Regions from separate parts of the Homo sapiens genome. Here region 1 is linked to region 2. Evidence: promoter capture Hi-C in human tissues and cell types (Jung and others, 2019). All regions are on one chromosome and are shown on one strand. The core of a region is centred on a gene start or on the middle of the fragment in contact, and the rest is flanking DNA. Distances in the headings are between cores, read along the strand shown. Region 1 has its middle 33 kb from the start of HPYR1. Region 2 holds the start of KCNQ3 (potassium voltage-gated channel subfamily Q member 3).

Region 1 (7,021 bases), core at 1,811-4,310, 48 kb before region 2:
GTCCACACCTGGGTGAGGGCAGAACTAGGGACAACCCAGGCTATTTCAAGAATCCACATTTAGAACCATAATGCTATATTGCCTCCCAGGAGGTGGCATTTGCTGGTAAATAGGAGTAACCAGGTAAAGGCTGGGGGAAGCATACCTGTTCATAGCCATGTATGAAGGCCCAGCATTAGATCTGGAGAAATAATGGAAGTTCAGAAGCCTGGAGCAGAGAGCTCATGGTAAAATAATGAGCATAAAATGAGCCTGCAGAAGAAATCAGACCAGTGCTGGCCACGGTAAGAAGTTGAACTTGTATAACATATGGTGCTGTTAGTACAGGTCAAAAAAAAGATGGGGATGGAATTAGAAATCCACAGGTCTACCAGCTCAAGCCCAGTGAAGGAAACTAAAGAGCGGGGGAGGGGGAAAGAACTTGAACAGCAAGGAAGGACTGTTAACAAGTTTTCTCAAAGGTAAGATAGCTGATGATACAGAGCAGGGGCACCTCTTAGTGGCCTGCGTGGTCCCCCAGGCATGGAGAAAAAAGAAAATCTTGAGTTCCTTCAGGGGAAATTTCAGGCACCCAGCTAGCCTTGAGAAGTAAATTAGCAACCTAATAAGCAGGAAGTAATAGTAGCTTACAACAATAGCTAAAGATATTAGAGCCACAAAATGCTTGGTTTCCTATAGAAACTGAAGATAAAATCTTAACATATGTCCCTGAGTTACTTTTCAGAAACTCAGACCCCTACTAAATGGAAAATATCATCCACTGGCATGTAGACCTCAGATAAAGGGAAATGGAGAATTGAACGTTGACTAAATTTTTTGTTGTAAATTTCAGTCTTTGTTCTAAATATCTTCCTGGGGGCGTGGAGGAAGTCATACCCAAAGGAATGGGTGAAAGAGACATTCCTTTCTGCTGATGCTAAGTTTTTAGACAAAGTTTAACTAAACACAAATCAAATTCTTTTAATCCACCCGTAACCTGCGGGCCCCATCCCCTTTGAGATGTCCCACCTTTTTAGGTAAAAGTAATGGATAGCCTCCATGTATTAATTTACGACTTTGCCTCCCTGCCTTTAAAAACCCTGGCTGGGCGTGGTGGCTCACGCCTGTAATCCAGCACTTTGGGAGGCCAAGGTGGGTGGATCACCTGAGGTCAGGAGTTTGAGACCGGCCCAGCTAATATGGTGAAACCCCATCTCTACTAAAAATACAAAAATTAGCTGGGTGTGGTGGCGTGCACATGTAATTCCAGCTACTTGGAAGGCTGAGGTAGGAGAATCACTTGAACCCAGGAAGCGGAGGTTGCAGGGAGCTGAAATCATGCCACTGCACTCCAGCCTGGGCAATAGAGTGAGACTCCAACTAAAAAAATAATAAAAAAAACCATTACATGTAGGCCATTGGGTAGTTTGGGTCTTAAGCATGAACTCCCTGATTCTCCTTGCTTGGCGCCCTGCAATAAATGCCTCACTTTCTCTTGCTGCAAATCCCAGTGCCAGCATTTGGCTCTGCTGTACTGGTTGGATGGATGCATGTCCAGTTTGGTGATACTGGGAGGATAGGACCAGCACAGGCAGGCAATTTACATTCTCTCACATCAGTTTTCAGCTGACATTCAAGGTGGTTTTGACCAAACTTATGGAAGCAGAATGTATGTTCTGTTTAAGCATTTTCTGTGTAGTCAGCATGCTCATAAGTAAGGCTAACGCCTCCTCCTCTTATTCTCAGAATGAACTTCCTAACTTCTTCTCTGACCATGGCTCTTTTGCCTCACCAGTGGCCTACTTTGCATGTCCCCCAGGCATTCAGTCTTATTAGGTACATTTTGGCCAACTCTCTACATGATAAAGCCTTAGGTATGTTTTAAGAAGCAAAACACTGATGTTATTAGAAGTTGTTCTTGAAATAAATGCATCTTTGGGGGTTTCCTTTCCTTTAAATGCAAATATCTCTAGGAGAATAAATACTGCAAAGATAAATAAACAGAGCCTCTGTCATCACAGAGATAATAGGGTGGTTGGGGAGGCAAATAAGTAAATTATCATTCCAGGGAAATGAATAAATTTTATGTAGGTGCTTAGAAATCTAATGAGACTTGAGCATAAACTCTGTGCACCTCCTTCTGACCATGAAACACACACACAAACACACACACCCCACAAGTGGCTGTCTTCTGGTCCTTTCTGAGCCCATAGTGAGAGGCTGATTTCTCTCTCTCTGTCTTTCTCTTTCTCTCCCTAGGGGTCCTCTATGTGATTCTGTCCTCCCCTACTCCACATGCCCCTTGTCTCTCTAAGGCAGGCATGACCACCCCCTTTCACATGCACATACGTAATGCCACCCCTAGTACTTAATTCTTGCTTAACCAGATATACTTCCCTACACCAGAAAGGAGTGTTTTGTAGTGTTTCCAGGAGACAATAAAGGGAGACACCTGTCCACCCTCTCCATCGGTGTGTGATTTTACTGACAACAGCATTGTCCTTTGGGACATACCCTGTGCTTCCTGCCATGTCCTAGGACAGGGTCAGGTGACTGGGGGTTGCATTGTGACTTTGCTACCACTTGGCTATGAGACCTTGGGGAAGTCATTTGGCCTCTCTGTACTCCAAGTGTTTTATCTAAGTTGGAGATAACAGTACCTGCCTTGTGGGGCTTTGGCAAAAGAAATAATAGACAGAAAAGTGCTTTGGAAATACCTGGGCACTGATTCTTATTGGCCACTTATCACTGGGTGAGCCTGGCAGGCGGCTCTGGGTGTCAGTGTCCTCCTGTGTCTAATGAAGGAAACGACATCTGGTCTGTACAGAGACTCAAGGACAATGTGGCAGACACAGGACAGACATCAGCAAGGCAAGTGGCTAGAGCGTAGGGGGCAAAAATGTAGATTCCTGAGGTAGATTGCCAGGGATACATGGACCAAGGGGGCCACTAGGAAATTACTTAATCTTCCTACACTTCAGCTTCTTCTCCACCCCTTGGAAGCTCTGCTTCTTCATCTGCACCACAGAGAATGATGACACCACCTTCTAGATTTGCTATGAGGAAGAAAGGAAAGATCTCCTGTAAATAATAGAATTGTGCCTGGCAAATAGGGAGCACTTTGTAAATGTCGGCTATGACTAGTTTTGCTTCTGATTTTCTCAATGACCCTGGACTATATTATACTCAATTTACTGATGTGTAAGCTGAGGCTAAGGAGGTCAACTGATTTATCTATGGTCACTGAGTTAGCTAGCAGGAGCTTAGAATTAAACCCTGGTGTTATAAGATGCAAGCTCAAGCTCTGCCTACCCTGTCAGGCCACCCTGTAAGAGGATGTGAGGAAGAAATGTCAAAGATGGGTCTGCACAGCTTGGTGCCTCATTCTTGGAGGAGCTCACTTCTTGAAAACAGGATCCCAATCCTACCACCCAAATAAAGGGTTTTCATAATAACCCCATATAACACTCTCCTCTATCCTGGGGGAAATGACCATAGAACATAGAAGCTGCATAACTTCAAAGTGATGAAAGTGATTATTTGGTCTGTAGCATCCTCCTAGAGAAAACAATCACATACAGTCACCAGAGATCCAGTTCGTCGTGGTGCTAGAGGAAGGTTGGAAGTGGGGACAAGTGTGGCTCTCTGTCCACTAGCTTAAGAGGGATGGAGTGCTTTTTAGTGCCCAGCTCCATATGCCAGAAAAGGGGATTGTTGTTAAACCATTGAAGCCTGTATTTTCCACTTAACTTCCCCATCGTGAGACATTTCTTCAAGTGTCCTCATCCTGCCCCAAAGACAATGCCTTGGTCTCACACATTCACAGAGGTGCAGAGCTCCGTTGTGGGGGGCTGGAGCTTCTTTGTCTTTTTTTTTCTTTCTTATATTTTAAAACTAGGTTTATGACTTGAAAGTGTGACATTTTCTACTTCTGTTTTAAGAGTGACGTTTTTATAGGCAACTGAGTGTAATATCTCAGTGGAACCTGCCATCTCAGTGATCCTAGTATTTCCAGGGAAGCCAGGGCGATCCCCACAGAGCTTCTTTCACAAGCCACACTGAGTTGAGGACTCTGCATGAACACATCATGGACATGTCTGAATTCTGGAGCTGATGCTTTTAGTGGAGGATGTGGGGATGGCAAAGAAGTCCAAATGCCTCTGTGTGAGAGAGGGAGAGAGAGAGAGAGAGAGAGAGAGAGAGAAAATGAGAATCTGAAGGAGAACATGACTCCTGGAGACTATTCAGAAACAGACTGGGGACAGAGGTGCCTGCCTGGGGGTTCGGTCACATGAGTTAAATGATTTTGCACAAATTATCTAGCTTCTCTGGGCCTGTAACACAGCCTAGTTATGAGCTCAGGTCTCCAAATCCTTTCAGATCTAGATTTGTTGAATAGAGCATAAGCTAAGATGCTCTGAGAAAGAGATAAGCAAACTCAGAAACGTTTTTTTAAAGTTAATTTCTCCCTTTCTTACACGCAAAATGCACTGAGGAAGGTGGATAGCAGGGGATGAACGGGCAGAGGAGGATGCTCCGCCAGGATGGGGAGGAAACCAAACCCTTCTGTTTGGATCCTCCAGCATTCTCCAGGTTGTTGCTTTTGTCCCCCTGGTCGAAGCTGACTCACCTACACCAGTTGCATGTTGCAGCCTGTGGGACAGAAGCAAAAAGAGGTAATGAAGGCAACGAGCCTTCCATCTTAAAGACTTGACCTGAAACTTATGCAGATTTCTTGTGCTTCTATCCCCTTGGCCAGACCAAGGCTTATGGACACATTTAGATTCATGGGAGGATTGAAAATATAACCTCTAGCTGGTTAGCCATGGGTCCAATAAACTCAGGGGAGATGCTAAAAGGAGGCGGAAGACAATAAGTGTCAGAAGATTAGCAGCAGGATCTCCTCCCATAAGATTGATTTGATACCCACCCCCATCACAATCACATGGTCCATGGAAATCAGAAACCCATGCAACAGTTTGAATAGTTTAAATTCCCTTGTTACTGTGATCACTGGGCTTCTTACTCTGTCTTGTTCTATACCATGCTATGTTGATCCTGGGGTGAAACTCAACCACCTACAAACCCCTCACTCAAAGCTTTAAGGAGTTACAAAGAGGGAGGAAGCATCACTTACCACATTGCATGGCACCTTAAAACCATGTATTAGCCCTGGGCTAATACACCTGTGTGGTGGCTCATGCCTGTAATCCCAACACTGAGAGGGAGTGTAGGAGGATAGCTTGAGTCCAGCGGTTCGGGACCAGCCTGAGCAACATAGGGAGACCCCATCTCTAAAATAATAAATAAATCATTAAAGTAGCTGGGCATAGTGGTGTACATCTGTGTTCCAGCTACTCAGGGTGCCACTGCAGGAGGATCGCTTGAGCCATGGAGGTCGAGGCTTCGGTGAGTTGTGATCACACCACTGCATACCAGCCTGGGCGACAGAGCGAGACTCTGTCTCAAAACAAAACAACAAAACCAACCAACCAACCAAACAAAATGTATTAGGTGTGAAAAGTCTAGCAAAGAACCCGTAGACACAGACCATCATAAATGTACCTGAAACTATCAAAGTTGGCCTTATTAACTTGCTGCAGCAAGGGAAACCACAGACCAGAGAAACCTGGGGGCACCTCTTTAGGCTGGAGTGGGAAGTTCTTTTTCTTAGGGTTTGGGCTTGTGCTGAAGGATTGTAAGGAGGAATGGAGAGGGATGAAGAAGAAGCAAGGATTGGTTCCAGACTGGGGACTGCCATTAAACTGGTGCAGTTTGGTAACTGAGTTTCTCTTCGTTTAGGGGTGAGAGAAATAGAGAGGGCTGGGGAAGTCATTTGCAACAAACTAGCAATCACTCAAAAAAAAGGGTTGTTAGTAATTTTGAGCGGCAGTTGACTTTGGGGAAAACACAGTTTTCTGCTGGCTTTGTCCCTGGCTTTATCTGTGTCGCCAGGCACCTCATTGGTCATTAGCGTGTGTGACATTTTACTTTCTAGAGTCCTTTTGGTCATCCCATCACTGGGGATTACTCTGGCAATGCCACCCTATGCTGTTCCCTATCCTTCACCACTTGCCTGACTCACTCCCCATTCTTCCCTTATTTCTCTTCTCCTTCTCATGAATAAGTGAGTGCATTTGGCTTATTTTCTATGCAAAATGACTTAATCTCTTTGTTCTTTGGACATCCAAATCTTTAGATAACCTTACTGAGGAATATTTCTTCCATTTGAAAAATTCTGGAGAAGCTAGTTAAGGTGATATTATTTTTGTCCCATTCAAATAATATGAGGAAAATGATGTCCACTTGCAGAGTGGTTGTGAATACAGAATGTACTCAAAAAATGTTAGTTCTCTCCTATCTTTAAAACTGGAAAATTTCTACAGCAGACTTTTTGGTGCTCCACACAGATCCCCTGAGATCCCCTGTCCTGCTTCTATGAGCCCCTGCCTGATTTCTGGGTGTGTTGTGCCTTTGCTGCCTTCAGCCATTACCTGAAGTTCTCTGCCCTAGGCTACTGAAGCCACCTGCAGTGAGCAGGAAGTAGCTCTGAGTTTGGTCTCCCTGGGGTGGTTCTTAGCCAAGGACTGACTGATGCAGGAATATGAACACCCAGCTTTCTCGCTTGAGTTGGTACAAACTCCAGAGTTTCCTGCAGGATTTGGCTGGAGACCTGGCATGAAATTTCACCCCTACTTGACTTCTTTCCAAGCAGTGCTTCCCCTGCTCCCTTTCCAGGTTCTCCTGGAAACATGTCCACACACATCATCTGCACATGAATCTTTTTGTCAGCACCTGCTTCTTGGAAAACCATGATTTTCTTAGGTAGAAAATGCATTTACCAAAGTCAAACGACTGGTCATTAAATACCCTCTCCTTGGATGCAGAGAGGCGAAAGAAAACTGTTGTAGAAGTCCAAGTGGTAGAATAGGAACCTGAGCAGGAATAAAGCTGGAGGGATGAAGAGGAGGCGGAGGGCACAGAAAGTGTGCATAGAACCCATAGAATCAGATGACGGAAGTGGCAGCTAACAGGAGGGTGT
Region 2 (7,000 bases), core at 1,537-4,036:
CACACCCTGCTTTTGATGACATTTCCAAAGCCCCTATTAGAAGCCTAAACACTGCTTGCCATTGGATTATAAAACCATCAAAGCAACTCCATTTACTAGACTCAACTACCTGGCAGTTTCCCTATCATTGGGTTTAATTGGCTCAGTTATGAATTTGTTATTGACTTAACCTCATCTTTTATGGGAGGCATGCAAATAGCCCCTGCACCTTATCTTAAATTGTAATACTTGACAGTCTGAAGCTCCCATCAAAATAGAAGTCTTTTCATGTATCTGAGGATCCAAACTGTCATTCTGGGAATCTGAACTTTTGATTAATTGCACAATAATAAATTCTCACATCTTCTTTCCACATTCCTTGACTCGTCTTCTTTTTATGTTTATCTAGTGAGCCTTTTTATTTTAAATACTGTCAAAATGTTTTTATCATGTTTCTTAAGTTGCAAGGAGCATAAAGGAGCAGCAAGACTTCCTAAGTATGAAGACTTTCACAATGGTAAAACGAAACCAAACAAAAATCTCACCCACAAACATACATGGAATGCTTGTGTGCCAGGCATTGTGCTGAGAGCTTTACACTCTTCATTCGCTTATTCATCATTTATTCATGCTGCCAACACAGATTGAGAGCCTGTGATATGACAGACACACTTCCAGGATTCAAAACTAGGATGCTTAGTCCCTGCTCTTGTTTAGTAAGATAACAGTAAACAAGTAAACAGAATGTAAATGCGATCATTTTTGGCAGTGATAAATGTAATGAATGAACAAAACAGGAAGAGACTGAGGGAGAACAGCGACTTTGGAAAAGGTGCTCAGAGATAAAGGGCAAGATTGTTTCCTGGTTAGTTGGGATGGGAGTAGGACAGGAAGAATACACGTGAGTTTGGTGTGTTGGGCATGGCAGGGCTAACACATGGGCAGGAGGAGGCTTTGCAGTGCCCAGCTCCCATTTGGAGATATTCTGATCCAAGCAATTCCCTTTCCTTGGGCTTTTTCTCCTTTCCAGAGCCTGCTGGACTGGTTACTTACTCCAACTCACTGCTGAGCATTTATCTATTCACGGATGTACAGGGGTCCTACTGGGCACTGCCACGTTTCCATATGCTATTTCCTATAATTCCTCACAAAACCCATCAACCAGTGAACAGCCTTTTCCCCTGGGGTTCTTGTCATGAACTCTTCCCGTTTAATATTAAGTTCCCATGCTAGAGTCTGTTTCTGGACAAAGAATTCTGTTGCACTGAGAGTTTATTTTTGTACCGATCCCACACTGTTTTAATGATTTCAGTCTTACAGTTTAACTTCCTCTGGAAACTCCTCCCTTCTTGATTTGGAGACCTCTTTTGAGGTTCTCCCCTTTGATAGTCATTCTATAGGGTGGTGGTTCTCTGACCCTTCCCCTGCCCCAGCCCATACATTCCTACTCCCTTCCCTTCCTTCTTCCCTTCCCTGTCTCCTATGCTCTCCTTGGCCAACTTCTCCAGGCAAATCCAGAGCTGGTGTTCTTGCAGGTCTGATTCCTCTTTTCTTATACACTAGGGATAGATCCTCGGCCTTGTTCACAGGGTCTCCCCTCACCCCATGTCTCTCACCCCAGCTGACAGACATGAGGTGAGAGAGTGGGAAGGAAAGGAGGCCACAGATGCCATGGGGCAGCAGGAATGGAGGCTTCCCCGATGGCGGTGGGCATGGAAGAAGTGCAGGATGCTCCTGTCCTTTGTCAGTGTCTTACAAGATCTAGCCTTTGCCTGTGGCCTACTCTCATTAAGCTCAAGCCACCCTTCCCCTCCGCACCCGCTGTTCTGCTGTTTGGAGGGCTCTCTGGACATTTACATAGTTGCTCCCAGCTTGTCATTAGGGTCTCACCTCGAAGCATCACCTCCACAATAAGGCCTTCCACGACCAGCCGGTTTAGAGTGACTCCCCCAGTCACTATAGCGCAGCACTCTAATTTGTTACCACATACTATTTACCAATATCGGAAATTCTACTGTTAAAATTTGTCTTTTCATTGTCTTCCACCGGCTAGGACGGAGGTCTTAGGAGTGCAGAGACCTCATATCTTCAGGACAGAGATCACTACCCTTTGCCAGGGAAGCTCACGAGGGGTTACAGATTGGTTGATTGAATTGAAATTTGGACCAGAGAGGGAATGACTGGCTTGGGTGCAAGTCGGGAGCAAAGCAGGAATCAAAGATTCTGACTGCATTTCTTCAGTCCTTTGCCCACCCAGACAGGTGAAGGTGCTATTCAAAGATTGGGGGAGGAGAGGGCCGCGGCATCCACCATGAACCACGAACTAGAGGGAAGAGGGAAGAGGGAAGAGGGAAGAGGGAGTCACGAGCTTCGCTACCACAGAGCAGGTGCGTTCGCGGTGCGCCCGGCCTTGACCAACCCGACAACTTGGCTTTTACCTCTGAAGCCGAGGAGCAGGGGTAGGGGGTGAGGGAAATTCACAAAGCTGCAACCACAGAGCCAATGTTTGGTGGGCGACAACCCCCCAGTCCCTCCTCCCTTCCTCTTCTTCCCCCAACTGCCCGCCGTCACGCCCCATCCAGGGGAAGCCCCAACGCCCACGGGAGCTCCAGGAGCCGGGCTCTGCAGCCGCCTGGCGCACTGCCTGGTTGCAACGGGGGCGGCGGTAGCCCAGGCGATCCTGGGTCCCCAGACAATCAGCGGTGGGGGTCGGCGGGAAGAGGCGGGGCGCCGCCGCCCGGGCCTCCCGCCGCGACGGGGCGGGACAATGGGGCCCCACCCCGGGGAAGGAGGGAGGGAGGGACGCGGCGTGCTCTCGGCCCGCGGCGCGCTCGCTGCTGCTGCTGCTGACAGGCTGAGGCTGGAACGGGCGGGGAGGGGCGCGGGTGGGAGCGCGGAGGAGGGAGGAGGCGGCGGCGGCGGCGCGTGTGGCTGGCGGGCGGGAGGGCGGCTGGCACCGGGCTTGTAAATAAACTGCGATGCTGTCTTGGGCTCGCCGGCCTGGGTGCCGCCGCCGCCGCCGCCGCCCCGGAGCGCCGGTTCCAGGCTCCCGCCGCCGCGCGCCCTAGCGCCTCCGCGCCAGCCTCGCGCGCCCTCCCAGCTTCTCCGCAGCCCCCGGCCCGCGACCCTCGGGGTCCTGCGGCTGACCCGCGCGGGATGTGACCCCCTGACCCCCTGCCTGGCCTCCCCTGCCCCCCAGGGGGCCCGCCTTTGCCTGCTTTTGGGGGGGGGTGGGGAGGGGCGCGCGGATCATGGCATTGGAGTTCCCGGGCTTGCAGCCGCCGCCGCCGCCTCGTTCACGCACCCCGAGCGCCCCTTCTTCCCAGAGCAGCAGCGGAGAAGGCGAAGCGGCCGGCGGGGGCGAGGCAGATGGGGCTCAAGGCGCGCAGGGCGGCGGGGGCGGCTGGCGGCGGCGGCGACGGGGGCGGCGGAGGCGGCGGGGCGGCTAACCCAGCCGGAGGGGACGCGGCGGCGGCCGGCGACGAGGAGCGGAAAGTGGGGCTGGCGCCCGGCGACGTGGAGCAAGTCACCTTGGCGCTCGGGGCCGGAGCCGACAAAGACGGGACCCTGCTGCTGGAGGGCGGCGGCCGCGACGAGGGGCAGCGGAGGACCCCGCAGGGCATCGGGCTCCTGGCCAAGACCCCGCTGAGCCGCCCAGTCAAGAGAAACAACGCCAAGTACCGGCGCATCCAAACTTTGATCTACGACGCCCTGGAGAGACCGCGGGGCTGGGCGCTGCTTTACCACGCGTTGGTGTGAGTACCCGGCCGCTCGGGGCGCCCTCGGCGGCGGCGCGCTTGGGGACTTGGGGTCGGGGCTGGAGCTGAGAAGTCTCTGGGGCTTTAAGACCCATGGATGCTTTCCCGCTGAAGGGGAGACCAGCCCGTCCTCAGCACGCGTTTCCCTGGGTGTGTGTGTGTGTGTGTGTGTGTGTGTGTGTGTGTGTGTGTGTTGCCGCTCTCCGGGTGTTCCACACTAGGGGCTTAAAAAACGAAGCGTGGTTCCCCTGCTGATTTGGGCGGATGTGTGCGCGCGCGGGTGCACATTTATGACATCTTCTAGGGGTGTTGGTTTGGAAGCTTAAAATAATTATGTGGGTTTTTCCAATTAATGTGAGGGTTGAAGAGGATAAAGCGGGTCCTCCCGTGAGCTCTGTGTTTCTGTTTCGGGTGGATCCCTTCTGTTGGGATCGCCACTGAGTTTAGTTGGGGATGGGAGGGGTGCGCACCACCCATAGTGGGGAGCGTGTGTGTGTGTGTGTGTGTGTGTGTGTCGCTTGCTTGTGCCACCCTTCTGATCGCTGGGTACTGGTACAGAGAAGAACCTGGTGCTGCTCTGACTGGGAGCTGGGACTGGCCAAAATGCATGTTCTAGGATTCCTTTTAGGGAAGTGAATGGGAACGTGTGTGTCTAAGCCTAGACTGAGGGGCTGGGGCTTCACAGAGCCAGGAGGTGAGGGGGCCGGGGACTCTTTTGGCTGAAACATCTCCTTGATTTGGGATCCGATATTCCCTCAGCCTCAGTCGCTGCTGCTTCTCCTGCTTTGGCTGGCCTAGGGCACCGGGAATGTGAGGGGCTTGGCCTGGAGGTTTGCACCCAGGCACTGTTCTCCTAGAAAGAATCTCCTTGCTAGTCCGATGTAAATGCATGGCCAGAAGGAAGAAGGAACTCCCTCTGCACCTGCCACTGGGGATGGAAAATCCACCCGTATTTGGGAGGGGGGAGAGGATGGTGGGGGTGCTCCTCATTCAAGATTGGAAATCTGTGCTGTCAGCACCCATCTCGGAGCTGGCAGGGCACGTCCAGCCATCAAGCTCTGCCTTCTGGCTCTGGTTTAGTCATCCTGATGGCTGCTTCTAGGAAGCTGTACTGTACCAGGGTTTTGGCAGGGAATTGCCTATGACCTTGGCAACCCCCCCTCCCCCCTCTCTCCCCCACGCGTTTAGCAGTGGATTTTCCTCTCTATTCTCCTCCAATTCACCCATGACTGATGTGGTCGGAAGGGCTCAGGAGCCTTGGAGTTAGTTACACTACCTGCCAGTTTTTCTTGGTTAGAGACGTTTTTCTAGGTTCGGCCACCAGGTGGGGGCGTCCACACAGGACCTCAGACTTAGCAACAGGTTTCTTCAAGGAGGTTACCAAGCCCGGAGAGGGTGCCTTCCCGGAAACTAAGGAACCAGCAGGAAGGGTGGGGTGGGAGTGGGGCATTTTCCCAGAAACGTGGATGTTGGTGTCTGTATGAGTGTGCGTGTGTATGTGTGTGTGTGTGTGTCTATTTGCAGGTGTTGGTCGGGGTCTGGTTGGAGAGACGGCTTAACAATTGTTGCTCTTTCATTTGCTCTTTTTAGGTGGCCGAAAAAAAAGCATTAAAATACATTCCTCTCTCTGTCTCTAGCAATATGTTTAGTTAAATTGAAGTGAATACTGAAATATGTGATAGTTAAAAAAGGCACAAGAAGTTCGTTGAGTGCACACAGTCATACAATGATTCACGTGTCCTTTCACATGCACATCGCGTTCAGTACGTACTGACTGAAAAACCTGGGGGTCCTATGGAAGCATGTGGGCTCCCTCTTTCTTCTCTTCCCACCTTTCCCAGCCAGCACCTCCAGCCCTGCCTTGTCCAGTCTGGGGAAGGGAATAGCTAAAGCTGTTACTGACTGAGCCTCAATTTTATTTTTTTCTAGAATTATTGCATCACCTGGAAGCAGATTTGATAATGCCAAAACCTGGAGCCTGTTTCCCAAAAAGGATCCAGGAAAATTTAAGACTTTGTGAGAAGAAAGTCAGTTACCTAGCTAGGAACTATATATGCAAATGCATATATATGCAAATATGCAAATGTACTAATTTTATTTAATCCTCACACAGTACTATTAGATGGAAATTATTATCTCCGTTATATAAAGATATGAAAACCTCAAGAGAGAAAATCACTTGTCCGCGATCACACAGCTAAGGTTCCTGGAGCTCGCATTTGAATGCAGTGGGTTCACTCTGTTTCTGAGCCAAGATTCCAGTTCTGATGCTCTTCCAACAATTGTGGGACCCTGGGTATTTTGCTGAGCGTCACTGGGTGCCCCTTTCCCCATTGTTAATGCAGGGCCATGAGTAATTCCTTGGCCTCCCCTTGCTAGCTCTCAGATGGCAAATTGCTAGAAATGAGAGTTTAGAATCAAGTTGGGGGCTGGTCAGAACTCAGGAAGCCACAGTGTTAGGAAAATTGAGGATGAACTGGGGTGGTGGTGGGATTGCGGATTCTGATAAATTGGGAGCTACACAGGAAAACCTGTGTTGAATTCCCATTGAGCTCCTAATATTGAAGCATACTTACTTAGTACATGCATAGTACATTCTCCCTGCAGCTTAGGAGACAGTCCAGTCAAGTGAACATAATTGAACCTTTCCTTGATGATTCAGGATTTTGCATTGAAATTTATGTTTTCAAGCATCCATTATCTTGTTCTGGGCTGTGGCTAATGGCACAATGGGCCCAGGAAATTGGGCTTACCATAGGCCTACAATCTAGTGGATGCTTTTTTTTTTTTTTTAAATTAAAATGAACCAGGTCCATGATGAGATTATTTTTTTTCTCCTTCCTAAAGGTAGAATACAGGAAATATGGAAATCAATCAAACCCTTACCTTGTTTCTTTTGCCTCAAATGCTGTATTAGTCTGTTTTCACAGTGCTATAAAGAAATACCTGAGACTGGGTAATATATAAAGGAAAGAAGTTTAATTGTTTCACAGTTCTGCGTGGCTGGCGGAGGTGGGAAGGGGTGGTCTCAGGAAACTTACAATCATGGAAGAAGGCAAAGGGGAAGAGGAAGCCAGGCACATCTTACATGGTGGCAGGAAAAAGAGAACAAAGGGGAAGAGCCACACACTTATCAAACAACCAGATCTCCTGAAACTTCTATCAGGAGAAGAGCAAGGGGAAAATATGCCCACATGATTCAGTCACCTCCCACCAGGCGACTCCCACAATATGTGGGTATTATAATTTGAGACGAGAGTTGG

What was found. Contacts are between HindIII fragments. The study calls those that stand out against the background at their distance.
Region 1: a fragment that was not itself captured here is called in contact with the fragment with the promoter of KCNQ3 in region 2 in 2 of the 25 tissues and cell types used here (H1 embryonic stem cells and spleen).

What each region holds. Positions count from the first base shown.
Region 1 is chr8:132,524,724-132,531,744 of GRCh38, reverse strand. No RefSeq gene overlaps it. Among named protein-coding and RNA genes, the nearest start is that of HPYR1, 33 kb to the left of the region's middle. The HindIII fragment of the contact is 6,947 bases long and covers 1-6,533 here.
Region 2 is chr8:132,476,881-132,483,880 of GRCh38, reverse strand. KCNQ3 (potassium voltage-gated channel subfamily Q member 3) reads left to right here and starts at 2,786. Exons shown (of 15, transcript NM_004519.4): 1 at 2,786-3,734. The coding sequence starts at 3,349. The HindIII fragment of the contact is 18,452 bases long and covers 1-7,000 here.